3 separate regions of the Homo sapiens genome follow, and all the other regions are linked to region 3. The links are contacts of gene promoters, found by promoter capture Hi-C in blood cells and fetal thymus (Javierre and others, 2016). All regions are on one chromosome and are shown on one strand. The core of a region is centred on a gene start or on the middle of the fragment in contact, and the rest is flanking DNA. Distances in the headings are between cores, read along the strand shown. Region 1 overlaps NAPG (NSF attachment protein gamma). Region 2 has its middle 44 kb from the start of LINC01887. Region 3 holds the start of PIEZO2 (piezo type mechanosensitive ion channel component 2).

Region 1 (4,538 bases), core at 1,505-4,004, 600 kb before region 3:
AATTACTGTGTTAAATTCTTCAAAGCCTCAGCAGAGGGGAGAATGCTAGTTGAGTGAGCAGCAGAAGTGAGAATGCTGCGTAGATGTGCTCAAAGGGCACATTTATAAATCCAGGGCTTTTATTCGTGACTTTGTTTTATTGGTTTTTTTTTTTTCTTTTTAGGAAAAATGTATTTTAAAATGGTACTTTCTACTGTGCTCAACAAAAATGTTATGGAAATATATTTTTGAAGTGTATTAACAATATAAAAATTAATTTAAATTTGTGCAGGAACATGAAGGAATTTGATCTTTTGAAAAGTGTTGCTGGGTATCTTGGTATGAAAAAATTAAGTCTACTGTCATGGTACTTCTATTGGGAACTTAAATAGTGCAGGATAAGAAAAAACATGCAGTGTTTATAGTGATGGAGACATTATTGAGATGATTTATGTGATAATTGAAAATATTAACTATGTGCTTAGATTATTATTTGATTGCATCTGTTGCCTAAAAGAACTAAACAGGTGGTAATTTTATGCTTCACACAAGCAACATCTACTAATAGACTGTGTGGCATGGAGTCTAAAGTTTTATGTTTGTTATATTTAGTTAGTGCACTTATGTTTTTACATTAACATGAGTCCATAAGATGTCCTAATTTAATACTTTCTATGTTAGTGTAGCAAAGAATCTATTTAATATATTAATCTCTTGCTTCTCCTTCAGTTTTGGAGAGTCAAAATTCAGAAGTGATTCGTAGTTTCATTTAGATTACATCTGGGAAAAGTCAGTCCAAGGCCAGTGCCCTTGTTCCTTTTTAGAAAAGGCCTTTCCAGGCTGGGTGCAGTGGCTCATGCCTGTAATCACAACACTTTGGGAGGCTGAGGCAGGCAGATCACCTGAGGTCAGAAGTTCAAGATTAGCCTTGGCCAAATGGTGAAACTCCTTCTCTACTAAAAATACAAAAAGTAGCCGGGTGTGATGACGCACACCTATAATCCCAGCTACTCGGGAGGCTGGAGAATCGCTTGAACCCAGGAGGCACAGGTTGCAGTGAGACTCCCATCTCAAAAAAAAAAAAAAAGAAAAGAAAAGAAAAAAAGACCTTTCCAGCAAGTTGATCATGACCTTGTGCCTCTGAGAGAAGGTCTATGCCTCTGAGACAAGGTGTGTGGTCTCAGTGAACCCAAATCCCTCCTAGAAGACTCACTTAGCAAAGAAAAGAGCTGCTTCTCACCAGTTGTCTGAGACAGTCACTAGATCCTAAACACAAGGAGGGTTGGGTGTGTATATGTTCAGGGGTGGGATGTGTGCTATTAAGGAGAATCACTGGGTTTCTGTCTTGCATAACTGTTCTGTCCATGGTGCCATCAATAACTGAGATAAGGAATATAGAAACAAACTTATCAGTGATGATAATAAACTTAGCTGGGAATATGACACATAAACTAAACATTTCTGTAGGTAGTTAAAAATAGGTTTTGGAGTTCAGGAAATAGTTGGGGCCAGAGGAACAGTTTGAGTTGTGGTGTAGAAGGTGTCTGTTGAAAGCTTGGGGATGAATGAGGTTCTGTGACAGTTTTCTGCCATTTGCACATAACTTCTGTGGGGTTTCAATTTTGTTACATTTGGGGAAGATAAAAACAATTTATTCTTTTTTCAGCAAAACCAAATTCTTGTCATTTTGTTAGGAATATTAAGTATTACCTGATGGAAAAGTTGAAAGCATCTGTGTTTCATTATAATAAGTAACTAATACTTTTCTGGATACATTTAAAAATAGATGGCTTTGTATGCTAATTTCATGGCCTTTTAGCAAAGTCGATCAACTTTTTCGACTACAAACTCATGTAAGGGCTTGGCTCTTTTGTTAGGTAACTATATATTAGCACATAGAAATGCTAATATTATGTCAAGGAAATAAACAGTTTATGCGTAAAGAATGCACCCTTTATAGTTAAATATATGAAAAGTTTAAAATACTGAGATTGCTAATAGAATGATATAATCTAGACACGACGGGCACAGAATATTCTGACCATAATTTATTTTATAAAACAGGATCTGTTATAAGCTCAGGGTCACAATTATAAATGATACAGATACATGTAGCTGTAGTCCGCCTTGCATTAATTTTTTATTTCTGCATAGCAGATTGCTACAAACTTAGCAGCTTAAAACAGTACTCACTGATTAGCTCACAGTTTCATGAGGCCAGAAGTCTGGATACAGTGTAGCTAGGTCCTAGTGTAGCTAGGTAGCAGAGCTAGGGTCTCACCAGGCCGAAATGAAGGTGTCGGAGGGGGCTGATCTCACCGGAGGCTTGGGTCCTTTTCCAAGCTCATTGATTGTTGGCAGAATTGATTTCCTTGCAGCTGTGTGGAAGAGATTCCTGTTTTCTTGTTGCCTGTTCGCCAGGAACTGCTCTCAGCTTTGAGTTTGCCTTCAGTTCCTGGCCGTGTGCCCCCATTGGTGGTTCACAGCATGGCAGTTTGCTGCTAATTCGAGACATCAGGAGTACTCTGGCCTCTAACTTAAGGAAGGGCCCACCTGATTAAGTCAGGCCCACACAGACAGTGATTCACTCGAAGTCAGCTGATTTGTGTCCTAATCACAGGATGGCCCATCATATTCCGAGGGTCACACCTACACTTAAAGGGGGATTATAGAGGAAATGTTTACAAGGGGCAAGAATCGGGAGCACTCTTAGAATTCTGCTACCAAACCCAGCTTATAAATTGACTTTGTTCCAAAAATTTATCAAGTTGACCTGTGGAAATTCAGAATGCATTTCTCCTATGAGTGTCATTTTATAAGGCACTAAGTTGCCAGCGTGCATCCCATAAAGATTCAGTTTAACTCATGATGTAAGTAGCCATAATAGCATAAGCCAAGCCACTGTGTGTGTGGTGTGTGTGTGTGTCTGTGTATACATGCCACTATTTTTAAAAAGATAACATACAGGCTGGGTGCGGTGGCTCACGTCTATAATCCCAGCACTTTGGGGGGCTGAGGCAGGTGGATCCCCTGAGGTCAGGAGTTCGAGACCAGCCTGGCCAACATAGCGAAACCCCATCTCTATTAAAAATACAGAAATTAGCTGGGCGTGGTGGTGGGCGCCTGTAATCCCAGCTACTCGGGAGGCTGAGGCAAGAGAATCACTTGAACCCGGGAGGCAGAGGTTGCGGTGAGCCGAGATGTCGCCACTGCACTCCAGCCTGGGCAACAGAGTGAGACTCCGTCTCAAAAAAAAATAAAAAGACAGAAAAATAGAGCATATAGCATAACAAGCATAACATTTTTGTATTTTTACTTTGGTTTACAATACCACTTACCTCCCTTTGAATCCCGATAGTACAGACTCTTGCCCCTTTTGGCTGTTGGTTGTGTGTATTCCCAATGCCCAGACCCTGGTAGTTTCTCCCATAACCGTGGACTGTTATTGGGATGAGAGCAGTGGCTAAAGACTGTACATTTCACTCAGTCTCAAGTTGTACTACTGAGGGAGTCCTGGCATTTGGAGTATACTACAGCTTTGCAGGGAGGGGAGGTTCAATTAGGGTTTGATGGAATTAGGGCTGGGGGAATGAGAAAGGGGTAAGGGCCTGGAGGGTTTGGGGGAAATGTTTTGGTGACCCCTTTCCTTGCTTTCGTCTTCATTCTGCCATTGGGCAAAATGGAAGAAAAGGAGAATGTATGAGGGTCAATGGAAAAGATGAATGTTGAAGACTGAAGATGCAGGAAGGCTTTTGTTTAGGTCTCTAACTTGCCTCCCCTCTGCTGCCCTTTTAGGCACCTCAGAGCTTGCTAGGGCCACTGGGGCAGCAGCGGAGTATGTGATGGAGGGACACAGTCGGGGGAAGGCACCGAGTGCCTTGGGTGTCTGGATGTTCTTTCAGTCGGGAGGAAAGAAATCTTGGGTGATTTAATCGAAGATCGTCTCAAGTACGTATCACGAAGAAGTCGTGACACTCGCTATTGGACAGTCCTTACTAAGCTTAAAACTCCCCGTTTGACCTAACCCATCCTTGAGTTCTTTTGCTTTTTCTGTCAGCGTGCAGCCTGAAAGTGGGGAGTCAGACATTTGAAAGGTAAGCCAGATGAGCAGAGCATGTGGAAACCTGGGTCCTGGGGCAGCTGCTAATAATACCTGTCCTCCTGGTGTCTCTACAATCTATGATGTCAAGTACATTTCACAGGGGACCTCTGCTATAGATCATTTAGACCTGCTTTTTTTACATTTCTGTGTTTTGTTTTAGGTTTGATGAGGCGGCACTCTCTATTCAGAAAGAAAAAAATATTTATAAGGAAATTGAGAATTATCCAACTTGTTATAAGGTATTCTTTGAAAGTGTTTGTTTTTGGTATTACATTAGATGATTTTTTATACTGGTATGAATAAGTACTTAAGAAAGGATTCTATGGGTATTTCTATGTTTTTGTAAAATAATACTTCATGGGCCTCTATTTTTGACCAAGATAGAGTAAGCCCACTACAGCTTGTTTCTCTGCTGATTACAGCTAAACTACTGGATAAAATACAAAAGCAACCACCC
Region 2 (4,470 bases), core at 1,957-4,456, 570 kb before region 3:
CAACTTGGACAAGCACCATCATTTTAAAGTTCACCTTGATCAAAAACTGCCTAAATCCAAAGGACATCAGCCTAATGGCTCAGGTCAGCATGACCATAAACCACAAATGACATTTCCGACCGGAAACATTCCAGCCATAAGATAAACCCCTCCCCTACCTGAGAGATGTCAGCCTTAAGATAATCTCCCCTCCAGCCACAGGCATTACAACCCCACCATAAACTTTTCCTGAGAGAGGGCTCCTGACGGAAAGTGGCCAGAAGCCCCTCTCAAAAATAAACCTGTCTTTGACTGTTGAGCCACTTCATGTGTTTCTTTCCTCTTTCTTTAACTCTTACGCAAGATGCTTCTAAATGGCCTTGCCTTTTAGTGTTCATGCCCTCACACAGCCCTCTCCCATGGCGAATCTGGGCTGACCCAAAACAAAAGCCGGTGGAAGAAATGGTGCCTGCCTTTTGAGGCAAGGTCATGGAGGCATATAGCTCCCACTTTGCCTGTGGGATCACTCATCCTGGGCCAGGCCACTGTGGGAGGGAGCCATTCGGAAGCAGGTCCTTCAGCCCCGCCCAGGCCTTCAGATCTGCAGGAGCCGTTGATATTTTCACTGCCGCCTCATCAGAAACCCAGGCAGAACCACACAGCCAAGCTTTTCCCAAATGCCTAATCCACAGAAACTGTGAGAAATAAAAATCTTGTTTTGTTTTAAGGCACGAGGTTTTGGAGGGATTTGCTATGTAGCATTCTATGACTAACACACATTCTGTGGAGCAAACCCTCTAGCACTTGTTGTGTCTCATTTGGGCCCCAAATCAGTACCACTGGAGACTCAGCCTCCTACAAAGTACCCAATAAAAACAATTTCTTCTGCTCCTTGTTCTAATTGCTGTCTACATAAAGGCACAAACCCAAGGCATCAGAAGCTGCGCCATCATCCTGTCTGCTGCCTAGACTGTGGGCGTTTCCTTTCCTCCCTGTGAATCAAACCCCACTTTGTCTAGTTGGTAGTGGATCTGACTTGATTGCAAGAAAGGGAAGCCCTTCTTCCACTTAAGAGGATGAGTTGTGGTTGGTCTAACCAAGACATGGTCACCTAATCTTTTTTCATCCAAGACAGGATCACTGCCTCATGACGGGCAATGCTGTGGAATAAACGTGCACTGGGGATCCCCTTCCTTCCCCCATACTAAAGCATAATCTCCCTTGGAGAAAGCTCCTTGCTTCCCTCCCTTTCAGCTGTCTCCCAGTCTTGACCCTGGAAGTGTCTGAAGGCCTAGCCTGTGTCTTACATTCATAGGGCAACATGTCAACGTTTTTAAGAATGTTACAGCAGCTGGGCAGGTTGGCTCATGCCTATAATTCCAGCATTTTGGGAGGTTGAGGCGGATGGATCACTTGAGGTCAGGAGTTTGAGACCAGCCTGACCAACATGGTGAAACCCAGTCTCTACTAAAAAAAAATACAAAATTAGCTGGGTGTGGTGGCACACACCTGTAATCCCAGCTACTTGGGAGGCTGAGGCAGGAGAATCACTTGAGTCCGGGAGGCGGAGGTTGCAGTGAGCTAAGATTGCACCATTGCACTCCAGCCTGGCGACAAGAGTGAAACTCCGTCTCAAAAAAAAAAAAAAATTTACAGCAGAACTTCATAATGTTTTTAAGCCGCTGTGTCAGTTCATTTCTAACTACACTCAAACTTCCTGTTACAGGGGAAAAAGCAAATATATCCATTTGTTTATGCAACTTGTATTGCTTTGTCTTTCTGGTAATTCTGCTCTCCATTCTGTGGTCATGCTCCTTCCTGGGAATGGACTTTGTCTTTTCCAAAATTCCACAGAAAAATGCTGAAGAAATAGAAGATGAGGCCAAGCATGGTGGCTCACACCTGTAATCTCAGCACTTTGGGAGTGCAAGGCGGGTGGATCACTGGAGGTCAGGAGTTCGAGACCAGCCTGGCCAACATGGTGAAACCCTGTCTCTACTAAAAATACAAAAATTAGCTGGGCATGGCGGCACGTGCCTGTAATTCCAGATACTTGGGAGGCTGAGGCAGGAGAACCACTTGACCCTGGGAGGCAGAGGTTGCAGTGAGCAGAGATCGCACCATTGCACAACAAGAGTGAGACTCCATCTCAAAAAAAAAAAAAGAAAAAGAAAAAAGAAACAGAAGACAAATGTGCTTTCAATCCAGCATTCCTCAGAGTCTGTAAGTTGGCTTTTCAACAATTTATCCACTTAGTTTTCCATTTTGATGGGGTGGCATTTCCGGTTGTGTGTCCACATCTGTATGGTTTCTGTGTTCACAGAGGAAGAAGGCAGGGCTTGGGAAGAGGCAGCCATCACTGCACATTCCCTGGGAGGGATTTTCGCATGGCCTGTGGGCTTTTGCTTGCTTATTCGGATCAGAGAAACAAATACATAGAGACTAAGGACAATTTTCAGTGTTATATTGCCCGCAGCTCTCACTGCTCGCAGAAGAGTGAGCGGGACTGTGCATGGGGCCTGGGAGAGGATATTTTCTTCCCATGCATACATGAGGGAAGGCTCTTTATTTCGAACAACTCAAAATTTAAGGGGTAGAGTTGAACACATACGAGATGAAGCATGAAAAAAAATTACTGATTTTATTTCTTTGACTTCCTGAGCACGTGCACACCAGAATGAACACTACAGCAGCCGGGAGTGTCATGGGGCCCCTTGAAAGTGAGGTGCCCCTCATCACCCACACTGTGGCCCTCCTCCCTGGCTCAGCTTCCTTTCACCAGGTGAATGGTGGCGATGGCCTCTTGACCTGAGAAACCAGCCTTCCTTTTATGCCTGTGTGCCTAAGCTAAAAGATCAACAGCTGTCTCCCCTTCAATGTGTAGATATTACAATCTGAAAATAAAATCCTCTTTATCAAAACAATAATCTGAAAATTAGCATAACGTTAGGTTCCTGGTATTATAGATGAAGAAATTAGAGAAACATTTTAATAATAGCACTGAGGAGGGATATTTTACTGCTCAGTTGGTGAGTTAGAGGATACAGTTACTGCCAAGAAATCTTTCTGCTTTTATTTTCCTTACTGAACAAATCAATGAATAATACAGATATAGATGCAAGGTGTTCTGGCCCAGTATCCCTGTGACATTCTGTATTTCCTTATCTAATTGGCTGCTTAGCTTTTTGTCCATCACGTATCTTTACTGTGTATCACCTATTTATCTCTCTGTAATTCCATCATCATAATTCCCATCCCCATCAATGTTGCCTTTCCAACTAGAAGTCCATGCAGAGTTCCACAGTTCTTAACCACACATAATGTCTCACACAAAATAACTGGTTTAGTAAATATTTCTTTTTAGTTGTTGTTTTGTGGAAATTCTTTAATTTTTGTTCATTTGAAAAGAAAAGAACATCAAGCAACCCAAAAAGTGCAAAGGAAAAAAAATTCATTCAAATTTTATTATTCAGAAATAAACGTTACCTTTGTGACTATCACTCCAGTCTCCTTTCCGTGTGGATACTGGTGAAAGGGTCAATAGATAAACACATTATTATATAGGATTCTGTTTACTAATTAAAAATAAAGTTATAACAATCGCCATTGAATTTAATAAAAGAAAAAAATGAAATAATTGTTGAAATTCAGATAAATGTTTCTTCATCAGAGGTATTCATTTCTGTAAGATTCTTCTCAAATTTAAAAAGGATTGTTTATGCTTGTATTTCTAACTATTTTAAGCATTTTTAGGCATTTTCTGTTGATTCTCAGCTCTGAAATATGGGGCAATTGGTACAATCTTGGGTCCTTGAATAGTTTTTCTTAAAATGTCCTGACTTTTAAAAAGTTATATAATCATGCCTGTAATCCCAGCACTTTGGGAGGCCGAGGCAGGCGGATCACGAAGTCAGGAGATCAAGACCATCCTGGCTAACACGGTGAAACCCCATCTCTACTGAAAATACAAAAAAAAAAATGGTGTGAACCCAGGAGGCAGAGCTTGCAGTGAGCCGAGATCGCACCACTGCACTCCAGCCTGGGCAACAGAGGGAGACTCTGTCTCAAAAAAAAAAAGTTATATTAAAATTTTTCTATTTTCAAAGTTCCTAACACTTCTCTTTTTTCACCAAAGTTTTCTAGTTCTTTAGTCTTAGTTTTATAGTTGATAGATTTAGAACTCACCACCAGTCTTTTTTTTTTTCTTTTTCTTTTTAGTTGACCTGGAATAAGTGTACATATTTATGGGGTAAGAGTGATATTTTCATACATGTATACGATGTGTAATGATCAAATCAGGGTAATTGGGATGTCAGTCACCCCCAACATTTATCTTTTCTTTGTGTTGGAAACATTACAAATCCTCTCTTGTAGCTATTTTGAAATATACAATAAATTACTATTAACTATTATTTCCCTACTCTAATATTGAACAGAAGATAGTATTTTTTCTCTCTGTGTTTTTCTACTCATTAGCCAACCTTTCCTCAT
Region 3 (4,460 bases), core at 1,207-3,706:
AAGAATCCCTTTCCCAAATCGCTTTTCAAGCTGGCGGGGAGAGAGGTGCATATCCGCTCTGTGGAAGCTTAGCTCTTCATCTATGCGAGTGAGACTAGACCCCTGCAAAATGGAAACTCAAACTGCAAAGTAGAGAACGAGGCCAGCATCCACCCGTGGGTCCCTCCTGCTGCCCCGGGACCCCGCCTGGCCACACCTTCCCTCCACTCGGAGCGCCTTTCTGGGTTTTCCGCTGAGGTTTGTTGAAAAGACGCCTCCCAGACTCTTCACTCACGAAGTGTGTTACAAAAACTCTCCCGGCAACTGTCCTGACCCTCACCAATCACGCTACAGCCCCCATTCGATTGCTTGCACAAAGAAAACATTTAACACAGGTGTGATCAACCTCGGTCAAGATGCAGAGTCATCAACCTCGGTCAAGATGCAAAAAGGTGGCCTTTTCTGCGAAGGCCACGCCCTCTGTAAATACAGTTACTACTTGGTGAAAAGCGCTCTACTTCCTAGCTCTTGTTGGTGAGAGGGAGAGCAAAGAACCAGGGCCCGGCATTCTTACGAGAGGAATTCAATGTCACAGGCACTGCCTGTTTGAGGAGAAGATCAGAAACGGTCCGACTCCCAGAACGCAGCACCCAGTTGCTTTGCACGCCAGGCCAGTCCTGGGGAAACGGTGCAACGCTTGTCTGGGCGTCGAGGAGGCTCCCTTGCGGTCCTCCCTGGGCCCTTGCCAGTCCCAAGGAGTTCCAACCCTGCTTTCTAACCCTTTAAAATCTGGAGAGGGCGGCCGCTGGGAGGCGGGACTAGGTGTTGGGGGTCTATAGCCTTAGCATCCAGTACTTTTGTAGTAGGGGCTTTTGTGGAGGTTTTAAAAAATAAGTAAGAAACGTCAAGGCACTGTCTCCCTGTACCTCGTCCCTCTTTTTCTTTTTTGAATGACCGGAGTCCTTCACTTCTTCCTTCACGGTTGCTGGGATTTGGGGTCTGGGAGAGATGGCCTCTGGGCCGTCTGGAGGCACAGCATGCTGTGCTTGCAGGGTCACTGGGGCGAGGGGCTCAGGTAGGAGCCTGACTGTACCTACGATGGGGACGCATCCGCCTTCCAGCCACAGCAATGGCCATCCTTAGTACACAAGTCAGTACTCCACGAAAGAAAATCCACGTGTAACTAAATTCAACATAAACAGTTTCCAGCACATGCCCGTCCCGAGCATCCTGTTAAGAGATACCCCGATCGCGCGCCCCAGAGTGGGAAGTGAGAGAGCCAGGCTGTGCACCAGGGACAGCGCGCGTCTGACGCCGCTGGCCTCCCGAATCGAACCCCAGAGCACCAGAGCCCTTCACTTTGTTAAGAAGTCCCCCACCCAGGCGCCCCCCTCGTCCTCCTCAAGTGCCCTCGGAAAGCGGACCAGACTCACCTACTGCCAGGCAGATGGGCAGCAGCAGCCTGAAGATGAGCCCGCACACCACTTCTGAGGCCATCGCGTCGGTCCGGCGAGTCGGAGCAGAGGGGCGAGGCTCGAGGGTCCCTAGGGGTGGTGGGACGCAAGGCCCATGCCCGTCTATGGCCTCTCGCCGCCGGCAGCTCGCAGCCACCCGAGCATCGCCTCGGCGCGGGCCGCGACGCTCTCCGCCCCGAGGGCACGCTCCCGGGGCTCTTGGCCGCCCCTCGCCCACCGGGCTCTGGGTAGCCCCTCACCAGGCTCTTGGCGGCCACCTAGCCCGGCGCCCGGCCCCCTGCGGCCGGCCCATTTAGTGTGAATCCTGGATCCGGCAGCGGCGGCGGCTTCTTCAGGGGTAGCTGATGCCGGGGCCTTGGAGAGGGACGCTTTGGGAGGGTCCTGGGAGGCGGCGCGGCGAGCAAAGGGGGCAAGAAGGGCGTGCTGTGCTCCCGCCTGGCTCCCGGGGCGTCGTTTGGGGGCGGCCGGGGAGTTTTCTACTTGGAAGCCCCTCTGAAGCCACCGCGTCTCCTTTGCCCGGCCTCGTCTCCGCTGCCCACGCAGGCTGCCGCGCTCTGGCCTCGGCCCCGGCTCTCGGAGCTGCCCGGCGGGCTCCGGGTCTCGCCCTCCAGCCCCCAGGCGGCCCGCGGCGGATCCCCGAGAGGCAGCGCAGCTCAGCCCCTGCGCCCCCCAGCTTCGGGCCGGAGAGACCGGGGTGGGAGCTGCCAGGCGCGCAGAACCATCCCCGCCACCACGGGGCTCGCCTTGTGGGTCCGGTGCGCGGGCGGCGCTGCGAGTCCCTCCCTCACTCGAAGGAACGGCGCGAGCGTGGGGAGAAATGGAGACCAGAGCGCATATCGGGTGAGTGGGTCTCCCACTCCCTCCTCCACCGCCTCAATTTAAAACTCAAGAGAAAAACCAGCGCCGTCCCGTCGCCCAGCGCGACCACCGCCTGCCGCCTTGCAGCCTCGCCCTCGCGGCGCAGCCGGGGCTCCCCGGCGGCGCGCGCTTCTCCACCTTCAATGAAACTTTCGAAGCCCTCACTCGGGGACGGGCGTGTCCCCCGGCCAATGGGATGGCGGCTCCGGGGCCTGCGCGCGCGGAGCCCGCCCCTGAGCGGCTGGGGAAGTGAGAGCCTTGCACCGGCGCGGAGGGCAAGCCCCCACCCGCGGCTCCCGCGCCTGGGAGAGACCCGGCCTGGCCTGCCAGTGGGCTGCGCGCCTTGGCTCGCCCTCCGCGGGCACTCCTGCCCCACTGGCTCCCGCAGCCCCGCGGCTCTGCGTGGTTCTGTCATTCCGGTGGTGCACCCTGGCATCCAGTCCACCCGGCCGGGCCCTGAGCTTGCCCAAACCCAGGGAACCGTTTAAGGTCCGAGGGAAACGCACAGGCCCGGCAGGAGAGAAGCCAGGGGCTTGGAGAGTCCTGTGCGACCCCGACTTCTGCTGGGTCCACAGGTGCACACTGGCATTAAGAAGAATAGAGCTGAATTCATCTACACCGTTGACCCTGCCCATATTTCACATAGCAAGAACTTGCCATTCTGAATAGACTCTGGGAAATCCCGGGTCTTCCCCAACAGATAATGCACCCACTTTGTGCATTTGGGGGAACTCTCCGTTTTCACCTCAGTTTTGCTCCTTGCTTGTCGTGGCTCTGGGGAAAGAGAGCGTTGGCACTGAGAATATTCTCCCTTTCTCCTAGTGCACTGCTTTTTGCCTGTTCTAGGCAAGATCTAGAGAAATCTGGCTCTAGCTGGGAGACTGCAGTGTGCCTGGGTCTTTTATTTAACTGTTATCCGAGAGTGGAGGAGATTTGCTAGAGCACAGTAGGGGTCTTTCCGGACATGGAGGAAGAGGCTGTTAGCATCTGTAGAGAGGACTGTTCAGGACTGGCATTCCATCAGGAGGACACACTGGGAAGGACCTGGCTTCCCTTCCGCACCTACATTCCTGGCTTGCATTAGTTGGAGGGGATAGAGCAGTGAGCTGATGAAAAACAGGCAAACCCCCGTCTTTTTAGCCATTTGAAACGCTTTTGTGGACATCCCTTTTTTGAGACAGGGTAAGCTTGTGGTTTGAGCTCAGGTGCCTTCACGAATTCTCTGAGAATTACAGAAAAACTATGAACCATTGCTTTTTGAATGAAGACTCAAGACAGTTGGCATATGGTGAAGACACCCTGAAACTTAAACCACCCATGTGCTCTGCCATCCTCAAGAAGCTTAGATAGCACCTAAACCCGGGCGTAGTCATGAGCTCAACAGCAGACCTACAGGAGACGATAGAACTTAAATTAGCATCCAGTCACCAAGAAATGCTATCAAGAAATGGTTTGTGTAGCCTGTTTGTAGAAGCCTGATATAAATCTACCACTAATTTTGATGTTCATAAGTCTGCCTTCACATCCATGCCCTCCCCACCTCACCCCATGTACGACTCATTCTTGGGAGCTAATAGGTGAAGGACTCCTGAATTTTAAATAATACTGTGTCATCACATGAATTCTGTATTCTCTGAATACTTTCTTATGTTCTTGATAGGCTTCCCATACTAACAACTGTCTAGACTTTTTCACAATAATTCTCTTTCAAAATAACATAAGCTGGGAGGCACAAGATTCCCAGCAGGTGGGTGGTCTTACCAAATAAACTTCGAGCTTTCTCTGCCACAGTGTGTACCAACTTGGCTGCTGGGGCGTTAGAGATTTTAACAACTACATCCCAGTTCTGAGACTTCCAACGTATGTACTCAAGGGGAAGTTTCAGCGGTCTAGACTACATCTGAAATAGGCTTCTCCATGCTGGCTACATGTTGCAGTCACCTGGGGAGCTTTTGAAAAACGCTCAGTCTCCACACTCCCTGAAATCCTGATTTAATTGGTCTGCGATGGGGCCCCCACACCTGTATTTTTCTTAAAGCTCTCAAGTGATTCTTAAGTATGCAGTCAGGGGTGAAGACCGCTGTCCTCATTTTCATATCAGACTCAGAAAATAGTCCATTGGCTTTCAAAACCAGCATCTCCAAACCT

Evidence for each region. The method cuts DNA at HindIII sites, captures the fragments that hold promoters and counts their contacts. A CHiCAGO score of 5 or more calls a contact.
Region 1: a contact is called between a fragment that was not itself captured here and the fragment with the promoter of PIEZO2 in region 3, in 1 of 17 cell types (megakaryocytes). The highest score is 8.0, in megakaryocytes.
Region 2: a fragment that was not itself captured here is called in contact with the fragment with the promoter of PIEZO2 in region 3 in 2 of 17 cell types (megakaryocytes and endothelial precursors); the score reaches 5.1 in megakaryocytes.

The regions. Positions count from the first base shown.
Region 1 is chr18:10,542,085-10,546,622 of GRCh38, forward strand. NAPG (NSF attachment protein gamma) reads left to right here. Exons shown (of 12, transcript NM_003826.3): 9 at 4,242-4,320. Among named protein-coding and RNA genes, the nearest start is that of NAPG, 18 kb to the left of the region's middle. The HindIII fragment of the contact is 2,446 bases long and covers 1,532-3,977 here.
Region 2 is chr18:10,580,075-10,584,544 of GRCh38, forward strand. No RefSeq gene overlaps it. Among named protein-coding and RNA genes, the nearest start is that of LINC01887, 44 kb to the right of the region's middle. The HindIII fragment of the contact is 5,125 bases long and covers 645-4,470 here.
Region 3 is chr18:11,147,113-11,151,572 of GRCh38, forward strand. PIEZO2 (piezo type mechanosensitive ion channel component 2) reads right to left here and starts at 2,457. Exons shown (of 56, transcript NM_001378183.1): 1 at 1,413-2,457. The coding sequence starts at 1,476. It overlaps LOC124904249 (a long non-coding RNA gene), which reads right to left and starts at 1,404. Exons shown (of 2, transcript XR_007066288.1): 1 at 1-1,404. RefSeq lists enhancers at 950-999, 1,028-1,866 and silencers at 1,560-1,629, 1,640-1,819, 1,840-2,119, 2,360-2,809. The HindIII fragment of the contact is 3,432 bases long and covers 66-3,497 here.